3 separate regions of the Homo sapiens genome follow, and regions 1 and 2 are each linked to region 3. Evidence: promoter capture Hi-C in 16 types of primary human blood cells and fetal thymus (Javierre and others, 2016). All regions are on one chromosome and are shown on one strand. The core of a region is centred on a gene start or on the middle of the fragment in contact, and the rest is flanking DNA. Distances in the headings are between cores, read along the strand shown.

Evidence for each region. Contacts are between HindIII fragments. The CHiCAGO score rates a contact against its expected background, and 5 or more counts as called.
Region 1: the fragment with the promoter of NMT2 here is called in contact with a fragment that was not itself captured in region 3 in 1 of 17 cell types (total B cells); the score reaches 5.3 in total B cells.
Region 2: the fragment with the promoter of FAM171A1 here is called in contact with a fragment that was not itself captured in region 3 in 1 of 17 cell types (fetal thymus); the score reaches 8.6 in fetal thymus.

What each region holds. Positions count from the first base shown.
Region 1 is chr10:15,166,318-15,170,451 of GRCh38, forward strand. It overlaps NMT2 (N-myristoyltransferase 2), which reads right to left and starts at 2,376. Exons shown (of 12, transcript NM_004808.3): 1 at 2,186-2,376. The coding sequence starts at 2,295. RefSeq lists silencers at 19-219, 1,746-2,575. The HindIII fragment of the contact is 10,106 bases long and covers 1-4,134 here.
Region 2 is chr10:15,368,918-15,373,485 of GRCh38, forward strand. It overlaps FAM171A1 (family with sequence similarity 171 member A1), which reads right to left and starts at 2,372. Exons shown (of 8, transcript NM_001010924.2): 1 at 2,039-2,372. The coding sequence starts at 2,135. RefSeq lists silencers at 2,129-2,358, 2,369-2,418. The HindIII fragment of the contact is 10,313 bases long and covers 1-4,568 here.
Region 3 is chr10:14,498,293-14,502,641 of GRCh38, forward strand. No RefSeq gene overlaps it. Among named protein-coding and RNA genes, the nearest start is that of MIR1265, 64 kb to the left of the region's middle. The HindIII fragment of the contact is 3,660 bases long and covers 924-4,349 here.

The DNA.
Region 1 (4,134 bases), core at 1,126-3,625, 670 kb after region 3:
GGTGAAACATGTTCTTACTGATTCATCCAAAGGCTCATTATTTGTTATTTATTTAAACTGATGGGAATGAAGAGGCCGAGTATAGAAAAAGAGTCTTTCAAATTTTAACATTTACAAACTTGAGCTACTTAAAGAAAACCTAGGTTTCTACTGCGATATCATCAGTACATGAGCCAAATAAAACACATTTACTCCCCCAAATTTGGCACACATTGTCTAAATTCAAATCCAAACAGGCAATCCAAGGAGAGCAGTCATTTGGAGTTTTCCTAATCTCCTTACATTTAAATAGAGTACAATACATCCATTATGTTAATCTTTTCCCACTAGAAGCTATTAACATGGTATCTGCTCTTGGTGAAAACATTTCAGTCCATGGGGCATCTCTAAATTTTGATTAACCTTTCTAATATATAAAATGTGCTGATATACAAAACTGAAAACTTCCGAAGGCAGCACAGATGCCTCTGGGTGCTACTCTGGGAACTTTAGCTTCTTGAAAGGTGTCGGGGGACAGGCTCAGATCAATGCGCACACAGATGAGGAATTCTTTGTACCAGGGGCATTCTCAACAGTGTAAGCAAAGAAGTCCTAATCAAGCCCCCAACCTAGAATATCAATCAAAGGAGGAACAATAAACAGAAATTACAGCAGAGAAGATAAAAGTCCAGGGTCTCTCCAGAAAGAAAACACAGGTACTGAAGCTAATCCATCAGCTTGCATCTGCACCTGGGCCCATTTCTGGCAATAGAACTACCGTTTCAAAAACATATTTGTATTTAGCTATCTATCACAAACACGTTTCTATCCCTGCATAAACAGGGCTCAGGTTCAGATTCCTATGCAATTTCCTTTCCTCTCTTTAAAAAAAAAAATATTCTAGACTCGAACATTCGATACTTGCAGCCGCCACTGAAGTATTCACGGCAAAGATAAAAACAACTTGCAAATGGGAGATGCACATAGTCAGCTTTTCTTTTTCTTCATTTGTTAATATTTTATAATGAATTAGAGGTCAGTCAAAAGTCCCTTTCTATAATAAATCTTAAAGTAGACAAGTAGAATGCAAATGATTTACACTTTCAATGATCAATCATTTCAAGAATCTCTCTACGAACTGAGTAAACCATCTGTGACTCAGGCCTCCCTATCATGTTTTTTAAGCTGACCCACTTCTCCATCACTCACCATGGTTCGAAAAATCTCACTTCTAAGGGTGTAGCAAGAACCGCTCTGTGCCAGCGCATAGTTTGAATCCAATAGGGTAAAAGGGTAATGTAAACAGCACTTTAAAAGGACACCAGTTTTTATTTAAAATGACCCACTGCCTCTAAAAAGAGAGCATCAACACCGGCCTTCACCTGAAGCAATCCTTTTCTCCAACAGAAGAGCAAATCAAGTCTGCAGGGTTCGGGGGCAAAGGGAAAGGATTAAGAAATCCGATCAAGTGTGAAAATGCGTGGTGCATCGAGTTTTGGAGATCAAATACCAGCTTTGCAAACAGGATACGGCCAGGTCAGCGGGAGCCCGGTTCAGGGGATCGGCCCTGCTCTGAAGAGCTCTAGGGACAGGCGAGGCGGTGCAAAGCCCAGTATCCCCAGCAGGGGCCGGGCCCGGGACCCCCTCGGCGCCAGAACTTTGCGCAGTTCGCCGCCTGCGGCCCCGACACCATCGGGGCACCTCCACGCCGCTCCACCCACGTCTTTGCCCATTCTTTTCGGGTGGCGGCTGCGGAGAGGGAGTCTGAAGGGACTTAACAAGGATGGCAGGGAGCAGAGGAGGGCGACCTCCTACCCCAGGCTGCGGCCGCCACAAAGGGAAGGGCGTAGCGCCTCTCCTCGGCGCCCACCGGAGCCACCCGCGGGCGAGGGCAACAGGCGCCTCCTGGGCCAGGCCGCCGGCGGGGATGGGCGAGGCTGGCCGGGGGCGCGCGGCAAGTGACAGTAGCGTCTCCCCGCCCGGGCCCCAGCCTCCCCGCCCACCCCGGGCCTCGCCTCCCCGCGCACTGCACTCTCCCGCGAGCCGCGCGCCCCGGACCTCACCATGGGCTCCGCGCCACGGAGAAGCCATCGCGGGGCGGAGCGGCCGAAGAACCCCCAGTCCTGGGAGCCACCCCCGAACGGGAGACCGTGGCGCGCGCGGTCCCCGCCCTGTCGCGCCCGGTGCGCCAGCGCGCCGCCCCTACCCTTTGGCGTGCTCCGTCTCCTCCTCATTGTCCCCGTCTATCCCGCACGTGTCCTGGTCGTCCAGTTCCAGGCTCTGCTGGCTGGCCGCAGACTCGCTGTCCTCCGCCATCGCGGCGGCGCTGGCTGGGGAGGCGGTGCTCGGGGCCGGGCCGGAGCGGCCGCAGCTCCCTCTAGTGCCTCCCGCCGTACTGCTTGGAGTCGGAGCCCGGGCGCTACGCCCCGCCCCGCCCCGCCCGCGCCCCGTCCCGCCCTCCGTCCCGCCCCCTCCCCGCCCTCCGTCCCGCCCCGCCCTCCATCCCCGCCCCTCACCGTCCGCGCCCAGCCCGCCGGCCCCGCCCTGCCCGCCGGCCCCGCCCTGCCCCACGGGCTTGAACCCCGCCCACCTCTTCGTCCCTCCCCACCAAGCCCCGCCTCTCCCCGTCCCGCCGGCTTCAATCCAGCTCTCTAACCCCGCCCGCCTCTGAGACCCCTCCCCTCCAGCCCCGCCTTTCCCCACCCTGCCGGCTTCAAACCCGCCCTCTAACCCCGCCCACCGCCGCAGCCCCTCCCAGATGGCCCCGCCCCTCCCCGCCCCGCCAGCTCCAACCCTGCTCACCCTGGCCAGCCCTGCACAGGGCCGAGTCCTGTACATCCAGGCCTGCGCGGTGCCTCTGCCTGGGGCTCGGCTCTCAAAGCTGCAAACGTGCAGACTTGACATCCTGAGTGGCGGCATTTTTGGAACACAGGCCATGCGATTTTACTTCTGGACGAATTAGGGAGCGCTCCCAGCCCGTGCAGGGGTTTTTCCCACTCAGGAGTAGGCACTCAGGGATGGGGCTTTCCAGAAACTCTTCCCGCCCCTCCACATACATGTTAACAATTCCATTTCGCATCTATCTATCCATCTAATACATTATAAAATCAAATTCAAAGTCAAAAACAGTATTTCCAGCCCTCCACCGCCCTGTCCCAACCAGGCTTGCAGCACTAAAACTCTTGACAGAAATTTTTGAGCTACCCCTGCTTTCCCTGGACACTACTACGGACGGCTCAGACCAGAACAGACATCTTGAGGGACTTGGGGACGTGTCCACGATGCTGGGGGATTGGACAGTTTCAGGTAGGCTACCCTGGCTTTCCCAAAGTCAAGGTCATGACCTAGATTTCCAAGCAAACGTGCACGGCCTTCTGTGCTGAAATTGTCCGCTGTCTCTCTCAGAAGAGGGAAGGGAGGCATTCTGTAGTACTGCCAAATAGAAGACCGGTGAAGTTCAGCCTCTCTTATTTGCTACTGCATTCTGTACAGAGCAGTCCTGTCCTTTGCTTTGCTGAGATGATCTTGTTCAAATGTGCTGCTAGGCCACCGGAAGTCTCCGCAGTGGTTTTGCAAAGATAATCATCAGAACCCGCTCAGTGAGGAAAATGAGACTTTAAAGAGCCACCTGAATTTTTTGGTGTGGGTCCTTTTTTTGCAGAAGATACTAGGAGCATTTTATGGCTTTTTTCCCCAAGGGAGACTATGTTTTTAAAACGCAATGAGCTAGAAGTATCAAAAGATGAAAACTGCAGAGCGATTTCAAAGCCCGTCAGCTGTTTGGCATTGAGACAACTAAAATTCTGTAAGAAGGGCAAATGGGGTCAAAACACAAAAGGAAATACAATATTGCCTTTAACAACGGCAACTATTTCTGAGGCAAAATGTCACATGTCACCTCTGTGAAACTTTAGGATAGAAGCAAATACAGATGAGTGAGGTTCCTGCAGCTCATCTCTGTGAACATGGATTGTTGGAGAACCCGCAGCCCGCTCGGGTAACCAACAGGAAACTGGCCAGGAGCAAGCCTATCAATCAAATCATCCACTCTAACCTGCCAGAAGGGTTCTCTAAAAGAGTTTTTAAAACTTAAGGCAAAGGAAACTCAGCAGTCATATATTTATCTGAATTTTCAAGAAGTTTTGACTAAGAACT
Region 2 (4,568 bases), core at 1,122-3,621, 870 kb after region 3:
CAGGTAGTGAGACCTGATTTCTGAAAGAGTTCCTGGGCTCAAGGCTTTAAAAAGCCATCCTTACAGTAGATAACAACAAAGGAAGTAATCCAAGGGGTAAACTATGCCAAGATACTTGATCTCCCACTCCAACCATACCCTAAACTAAGCCACTGCTAGCCATGGCAGAAACCTCTTCTCATGTTGACCATTTCCCTCCCATTTCGCATAATATTCCATTCCTGAGAGGCGGATTTTTAGCAGCAAGAGCTGGGTAAAACGTGGTCTTAGACCTAAACCTGTTATATATATATTGAATATATATATATATATATATTGAAGACATGCCTTCCTTTCTCTAATTCAGAAGTGCATGAATTTAATATTTCCATATATTGGTATTTCAAGTGCAAAAGGAAAAATTCAACTTGCTCTTTAAAATTAACGGCCTCGCTGAAGTGCAAATATCATTCTCTAAAATAGCTGATTCAAAAAAGCAGTAGGGTATTAATAAAAGAAGCTGCAATGCAACACTGATGATCTAATGTCCTAAACATTCGTTTCCTACACGAAGAGACATATAGGTCTTTTTGTATTTTGTAGCTGTCCGCTCTTCCATGATATGCATTACTAAAATTATACACAATTCATAACGGTCATATTCTACCATGGCCATAGAAGCAGCAATGCATTTAAGATATACCAGGAAATGATACTGCAAGTGCCAGAATATGAAAACCTTCAACTCAACATGTAGGCAACAAACTCAACCCAACAGAGTGTTGGCAGAGCCTTTCCTCCCCGTAGCAACATCGTGGTGGAAGCCCGGGCGTCTCTGCTCCCAGGCACCCTGAGCATGTTAGCCGAGGAAAGGGGGTTCCAGCAAGGAGACCCTCGGATGCAGCACTCCTCGTTTCTTTGGCCTGCAGGGCCAACTTTGCAGGACACACACCCTTCTGAGGGGACAGGCCTCGGGCTCGGAATCCCGGGGTTCTGCAGGGCTGCAGGGAGCTCCCTCGCAGAGACCTGAGCCCCCGGCAAGAGTCCAGGCAGCGGTGCCCTGGGTGAATGCAGAGGCTCATCTGCGGGCCTCAGTGGCCCTTTTGAAAACGCCAGCAACAGAGGAGTCCTCGACGCTGTCCCCACAAAAATGTGCCAAGCAAGCCTCAGGGTGGGTGTGGGGGACTCCCCTCAAAAAACGCTGATTTTAAAAACAAAAGACAGGCTCGTGGCCATTCTCAGAGGCGACCACGTTACTCCCAGGGCTGGAAAGCAGATTTGTGGAGGCCAAAGACGAGACAAAAGGCACGAGCTGGCGACAAACTGATCTGGAAAGGATTTTTCTTTTTTTTTTTTTTTTTTTTGGTGAGCGATGAGGGCCTCCCAGTTCAATTCTTTCTTCCCTTACAGAGAAGACTCATGGGCCGCTGAGCAAATCCCTTATGGTCTGGAAGAGACGTCAGATAGGCAGGGGGAGAGAACCCCCCAAACTTTCCCAAACTGCGGCAGGCTAGTGGCTAGTGGCGGCAGCGGACCTCGGGGCCCCGGGACACAGGGGGCACCCCGGGGCGTCAGCCACCCCCTCCCGCCACAACAAAAGGCCCCAGCGCAGCCCAGGAGCTGGGACTTCCCAGACCCGAGCCCGGCGTGGGGAGCCGGGAGCGCGATCGGGCGGCGCGCCCTGGGCGGCCCCTCTGTCCGCGGCGACATGGGAGACAGAGCCGCGTGTCCGAGGCGCGGCATAAAGGGGACCCCCGGGCGCATCCAGACGAGCCCCCGCCGCAGCGGCGACAGCAGCTGGAGCTGCCCGCGCCCCCGCCCGACCCAGCCCCCGATCCCCGGCCCCCGAAGCCTCCGCCCGGGTCACCCCGCGTCGCCGGCCCGCGCCGCCCCCTCGGGAGCGCGTTGCGGGTGCTGCAGGCCCGGAGGCTCCCGATGCGGCTCGGGCTGCGTCGCCACCACGCGGCCCGGGACCCTCCCGCCGCCGCCGCCGCCGCCGCCGCCTCCGCGCCAGGCCCGGCGCGACACAAAGCCCCCGGCCCCGCCGCCGCCCACTGACCTTGGGCTCCGGCGCCGGGCTCCCGCAGCGTCTTGGTCACCGCCTTCCAGACGTGGCAGCCCAGCAGGCACAGCAGCAGCGTCGCGGACCTGCTCATCTCCGCCGCGGGGCCGGCGGCGGCTCGGGCTCGCCGAGAGCGGGCCGGGCGGCGGCGCGTCACGGGCGGCCGGGCGCCGCGCCCCCCTCCATGTCGCTGGCTCCGCGCGCCGGGCCCGCCGCCCGATTGGCCCGGCCCCGCCGCCCCGGCCGCTCCCTCCCGCGCCCCGCGCCGGGTTTCCCCGAAGAGCCGCGGCGGCGGCGGCGGCGGCGGCTGCTGCTGCTCCGCCAGCTCCTTAACCCCTTCCTGCCTCGCCCGCCGCCGCCGCCGCTGCCCGCGCCCAGGCCCCGGGCCCGTGGTGCCACCTGGCGGCTGCGGCGCCGAGGGCGCCCCCGCCCGGCGCCGCTGCGTCGCGCCCCCAGCCCGACCCCCGGCGACACTGCCCCGGCGCGCCCCATCCCCGCAGCCCCGCAGAAGAGCCAGACCTGCCTTTCAGGGCGGAGCCCTTTTCATCACACCAGGTCACCCAAGGGGCCGCAGGAGACATTGTATCTGGGTGTGACCCCCCCACCAGGTGCCATCCTAATGTAGTTGTGTCCCCCAACGTAGATTTCACACCCAGTGTTAAAGATCCGCAAAAACACTCCCCAAGCCAGTATAGACTGCAGTAGGCCTGCAGTACCTACGTGTTGGCGGGTGGACAGCTTCAGGAGGAATGGTACTTGGATGGTTCTAGGGGTTAGGGTGGGGAGGAAATCCACATCTTTTGAGGCCCTAGGTGCTTTAAAACTTTCTGTCCTATTAAAGAAAAAAGACTATTCCATGACACGTGTGAAAGCACAGCAAAGAAGACCCTCTTTGGAACCATCGCAATAGGTATAAGCCCTACCATGGGATTCTGCAGTCGGGGAGAAAGGTTGGGTTCAACTCTGAATACAGCAGGAACAAGTGGGGATTTATAACCGAGGACCAGGGTGGGATGCAGGGAATGAAAAATTATAAGAGGAAACATCAGGGGGAAGGGGGATTCTTGAAAGTCAGACATCCCCTGGCAGGGCTGGGCAGGACAGGGCGGATGGGGAAGCTGATCAGATATCCAGGGTGGAGGGTTCTTGGTAAACTGACTTAGCAGGGTTCTTCCTGAAAGCAGATTTTACAAGGAAGGGCACAACTGAGCCTAGAAGAAGGTTCCGGAGCCTGACTGTAGTTCGGTCAAGCAGAGACTCTTTGTCCATCTTCACAATACATGATCTAAGAGGTAGTTAGCATTATCCCCCCCATTCACAGATGAGAAAAGAGGCTAAAGAGGGTTAAGGAATTTGTCCAAAAGTGCATACCTGGTCAGTGGCAGAGCCAAAATTCTAATAAAACAGTCAGTCTGACCCCAAAATTGAAACTCTTCACAAAAACCTCCAGACTTGGCTGGGTGTGATGGTTCATGCCTATAATCCCAACACTTTGGGAGGCTGAGGTAGGTGGATGGCCTGAGTTCAGGAGTTAAGAGACCAGCTGGGCCAACATGGTGAAACCCTGTCTCTACCAAAAATACAAAAAAATTAACCAGGCATAGTGGCCCATGCCTGTGGTCCCAACTACTCAGGAGGCTGAGGTGGGAGGATCGCTTGAACCTGGGAGTGGGGAGGTTGCAGTGAGCCAAGATCGTGCCACTGCACTCCAGCCTGGATGACAGACTGAGACCCCGTCTCAAAAAAAAAAAAAAAAAAAAATCAAAAAATAAAACCACCAAAAAAACCACACACAAAACAAAACCAAACCTCTAGACTTTCCTTGAGCCTAGGGACCCCCTCCATTCCAACCTCAACTTTTCTTTCTCTCAACCCACTCCTGTCGGTATGCCTTCCACACAACCTTCACCTCCACTTGTCCCTCTCCACCTTCTCTTCCAACTAGCACTGCGGTGACCTTCCGACTTCCACTGGGGACCTAGGAAAATCCACTCCAGACCCATCATCCACCCCACACTGCTTCCAGAACACCAGGCCAGAAGGAGGGTTATTACTGTAATTTCATTAATTGAGCATTTAGACATGGCAGGCACCGTACCAAAAAAAGAATGAAGGATGGCACTTGCCCAGTTGGCTTATAAAAGACAAATGACTGTGAGACATGAGAAAAACTAGGACGTACAGAAGCCCATATGGGTTTTATAGTCACCCTTAGGACCAATGCTGCAATTTGCGCAAATCACGCACCTGCACAGGGTGGCAGGTAGTCAGGAAGGCAGAAAGAAATAGGGACTGCTGGATTCCCTCCTTCTTCTGATTCCTGCATCTAAGCCTAATATATGGCATCAAAGTTCCTAATATATGGCACTCACTGAACTGGAGCTATTTCCTCATAACAACTTATTTGGTAGGTATCATTGTTTCCATTTCACAGATGAACAAACCGAGGCTTGGTGCCATTAAACAACTTGCCCACAATACAAAGATCTGATAAGTGTAAATTCCCTATACCATGTTACTTCTGAGA
Region 3 (4,349 bases), core at 1,504-4,003:
CACTGTGAGAAATGGCTTCATGCTTTGTCCATTGTGTGTGTGTGTTCATGCAAGTGCACGGGTGTGTGTGAGTGTGTGATTTCTATTTTCCCCATAGAATGTCATCTCCCCCATGGCAGGAGCCCTGGCTTCCTTACACTCCCAGGGCTCCTGCGCCTGGTACCCATGTGCTGGATGAATGAATGTGTGAAACTGCAATTCTCGCAATACTTGACCGTGGGCAGGAGCGGGACGGCGAGTAGGTTTTACAGATGAGGAAAACCACACCAGGAGTCTCCATGACTTCCTCACTGCCCTCACAGTAAGAGGCAGCACTGGGCCTAGAAAAGGGGACTTTTTACTCTTTGTGCCTGAACCTATCATATCAAACTGAGAGGTGTAATCATAATGCTTACTGCTCATGATTTGAACTAGTTCACCTCAGACCAAGAACAGAATATTAGAACTCAATAAATTAATAAACAAATTATAATTATTGTTTTTATAGCGATGGAATGGAGTCTCACTATGTTGCCCAGACTGGTCTCAAATTCCTGGGCTCAAGCCATCCTCCCACCTCAGCCTCCCAAAGTGCTTGAATTATAGGTGTGAGCCAACACGCTTAGCTAACTTTTTAAATTTTTTGTAGAGATGGGAAGGGAGTGGGGGGGGTCTTGCTATGTTCTCCAGGCTGGTCTCGAACTTCTGGCCTCAAGCAACCCTCCCGCCTTAGCCTCCCAAAGTGCTGGGATTACAGGCATGAGCCACTGTGCCCAGCCTATGAATTGCGATTCTAATTTTAAAAACTAAGACGTTCTGCTGGTGCACACTAGATGGCAGCAACGCGCATCATTTTAAGGACGGTGAAAGTAGCGGCCGCATCCCTTGGTAGGGTCTGTATAGCCCTGGCCCTCGGCTAGGGCTGGGTTTTATTATTTCATGTAAGCTTCCCAACCTCTCAGTATTGCAGATACTTAGCAGAAAGGATTAAGTCCCGAGTTGCCGAAGCCTAACGTCACCAACCTTGCTATTGCCAAGAGCAGGCATGGAAAGGTTTTCCTTCCTCTCTGGAGGCCAGCAATTGACTATCTTGCCCAGTCATAAAAGAAGACACTTAGGAGAAGCCTTGATTCCTAGAAACGGCTGAATTAGGCGTTCTTGCTGCAGGGACAAAGGCTTCCTCCGGGCCTTAGAACGGGCCGAGAAAACCTACCATCTGCCTTCCTCGCCGGGAAGGCACCTTGACTTTGGCTGGGCTGGGCCAGCCCTGGACACACTGATGACAAGCGACGCCTGCCAGTGCCCAGCTCCCTCTTTCCAGGCCCTGTCATTTAATGGCAAATATTTATTGAGGGCCTACTATGCGCCAGGCCTTATGTCCCAGCCTCCAACCCCACATGCTTCACCCCCACACTGTCTGTCACTGACCATCCTCCTGTCCCAGGCTCCTCATGGCTCCTGACTGGCTTCCCCACCGCCTGGTCCCACTTCTCCGTTGCCAAGCCAAAAGGGGTTGTCCCAGCTGTACCCAATGCTTGAGGATGTATTAAGGTATCTCTGCCAGGTAGAAAAGGGTAAATGCGTTGTCTTTCCCCAGACAACAGCATGTTGAAATTTTACCGCTACACAGTGGTTGGGACTTTAAAGGTTAATGCAGGGCTGGGCGCAGTGGCTTATGCCTGTAATCCCAGCACTTTGGGAGGCCCAGGGGGGTGGATCACCTGAGGTCAGAAGTTTGAGACCAGCCTGGCCAATAAGGTGAAACCCCGTATCTACTAAAAATACAAAAATTAGCCAGGCATGGTGGCATGGTGGCACATGCCTGTAATCCCAGCTACTTGGGAGGCTGAGGCAGGAGAATCGCTTGAACCTGGGAGGCAGAGGTTGCAGTGAGCTGAGATCGTGCCATTGCACTCCAGCCTGGGCAACAAGAGTGAAACTCCGTCTCAAAAAAAAAAAAAGGTTAACACGGTAGGATTTTAGAAGAGGCATTTGAGGGCAGCTGGACGTTATGGCTTCAAATCATACCACGTGGTGAGGGGTTGTATCTAGGATGGCCCTGGCCCTGCACGTTGGGTGTGTGAGCAACACTGCAGCCACTCTGCCCCACCCCAGAGCCTGTGACTGAGCCTGGACTTCCTGAACTTCATAAATAAGTGTAGATAACAAATATAAACAAAAGAACAGCAATCATCATCATCACTAATGTTTACTAAGCACTTTACATGAATCTCCTCTAACACTTTTTTTTTTCAACAGGACATCTCCCTCTGACACCCAGGCTGGAGTGCAGTGGTGCAATCGTGGCTCACTGCAGCCTCAACTTCCTGGACTCAAGCAATCCTCCCACCTCATCCTCTCAAGTGGCTGGGACTACAGGCCGGTGCCACCACATCTGGCTAAATTTTTTTTATTTTTTGTAGAGACAGGGTCTCACTATGTTGCCCAGGCTGGTCTGGAACTCCTGGCCTCAAGTGATCCTCTCATCTCGGCCTCCCAAAGTGCTGAGATTGCAGGCATAAGCCACTATACCTACCCTACTCCTTTAACTCTTACAACGGCTCAATGAGGCAAACAAAATCATTATGCCCATTTTATTTTACTTTTTATTTTTTGAGATGGAGTCTTGCCCTGTTGTCCAGGCTGGAGTTAAATGGTGCAATCTCGGCTCACTACAACCTCTGCCCCCTGGGTTCAAGTGATTCTTGTGTCTCAGCCTCCTGAATAGCTGGGATTACAGGCGCGTAACATTATGCCTGGCTACTTGTTGTATTTTTAGTAGAGACGGGGTTTCGCCCTGTTGGCCAGGCTGGCTTCGAACTCCTGACCTCAAGTGATCCACCTGCCTCGGCCTCCCAAAGTACTGGGATTACAGATGTGAGCAACCATGCCTGGTCAGTTACGCCCATTTTACAGATGAGAAAACTGGGGCCAAAGCATTTATTTTCCCAGAATCACAAAGCTAGAAAGCGATGGGACTATGATTCAAATCCAAGTTCTCTGATTCCAGAGCCTGTGCTCCTTATTCTATTGCCCACTCAATTTTTCCCCCAAAATCCAAGCCAACATCCAATGTGAATTCCATCTGACCTTGGTTATGGAAAGCAGCCCCCTCCCCGACACCCCCCCCACCCCTGCTCCCACACACACAGCCATTCTATTGAAGGAGACTAGCCCCAGATGCCCCCTGGCTTCTTGCTGTCAGTAGTGAGAATTAGTCCAACAGTTGGAGAAAAGAAGCCACCGATAACTGAGAGTTGGCTATTGCCTTCGTTCTCTGCATTTTGCTCTTGTAAAAAGCAATGTGTGTGTGTGGAGCCTCTAAGTATGTCCATATGGTGACATAGACAAGACCGCGGTACTTGCTTGTGACAACTGGATCTGACCTTCCCTGGAACTCTTAGGAAAATGTAAATTGCTCTTTCGTGGCCCCAACAGCACATTTTGTACCCACTTTGGTCAAGGTCACTATACAAGGAGGATCCTGGCATGCTGGGAACACTTGCTTACCTTGGGGCCTCCCAAGAATCAGCCCATGGATGGAGACTCTGCCCTACTCACTTTTTATTCTCATGCCGACTAGCACAAGGCAGGTACTCGATGTGTGTCAGTTGACACAAAATAAAGTGAGCATGTCCTAGGGAGGTGAGACAATGGGAAAAGGTGGGTCTCCTCTTGACTCTCATCACCCTTGCTGCCTGGGGTTCCTGTTCCTCCACCTCACTTCCCTGGGGCCTCCCAGTCTGTCTTGCCTCATTGTTCTGTCCCAGGGAGAGAGGGGTGACAATGTCCTAGAGCCAAAGCCATCCCGTGCAAAATCAGGTAGGAGGAAAGTACATACAGTGCTACCCAAAGGGCCAGCCCAGCCTGGAGGAATATGATGCTTTGGGGAGGTACCTGGGGATCCTGTATAGGCAACATAAGCCATGATGGAAAATAAAGTAATACAAGCAGTAACCTCCAAGACAGAAAATTGATTCATTAGTGCCTCTAGTTTGCATGACTATGGAAAAGAACCCTCCCGGCTGAATAACCAGTTATGATCAGCAGTTAAGACCTCTCTTTTGTTTTGTTTGTAAGAAGACCTCTCTTTTGTTTTGTTTTGTTTGTAAGAAGAAGAGAAGAAAGAGAGGAGGGAAGAGAGGGAGGGCAAGTCAATGAGTTGTGCTGAGGATGAGAGGAGAGATTTATCTTTAAGACTAATAGCTTGTCAATGAGAGCTAGCCTGCCTTTGAGCAGCAGCAATAGCCTGCCTTTGAGATCAGCCAAGTCCCTATTATATATTAAATTCCCTTGCCTGAAAAATAAATTGTGGAAGAAAAAGGGAAATTATGTACATTCCATTTTATGGGAATCAGACTTGTCCGTGA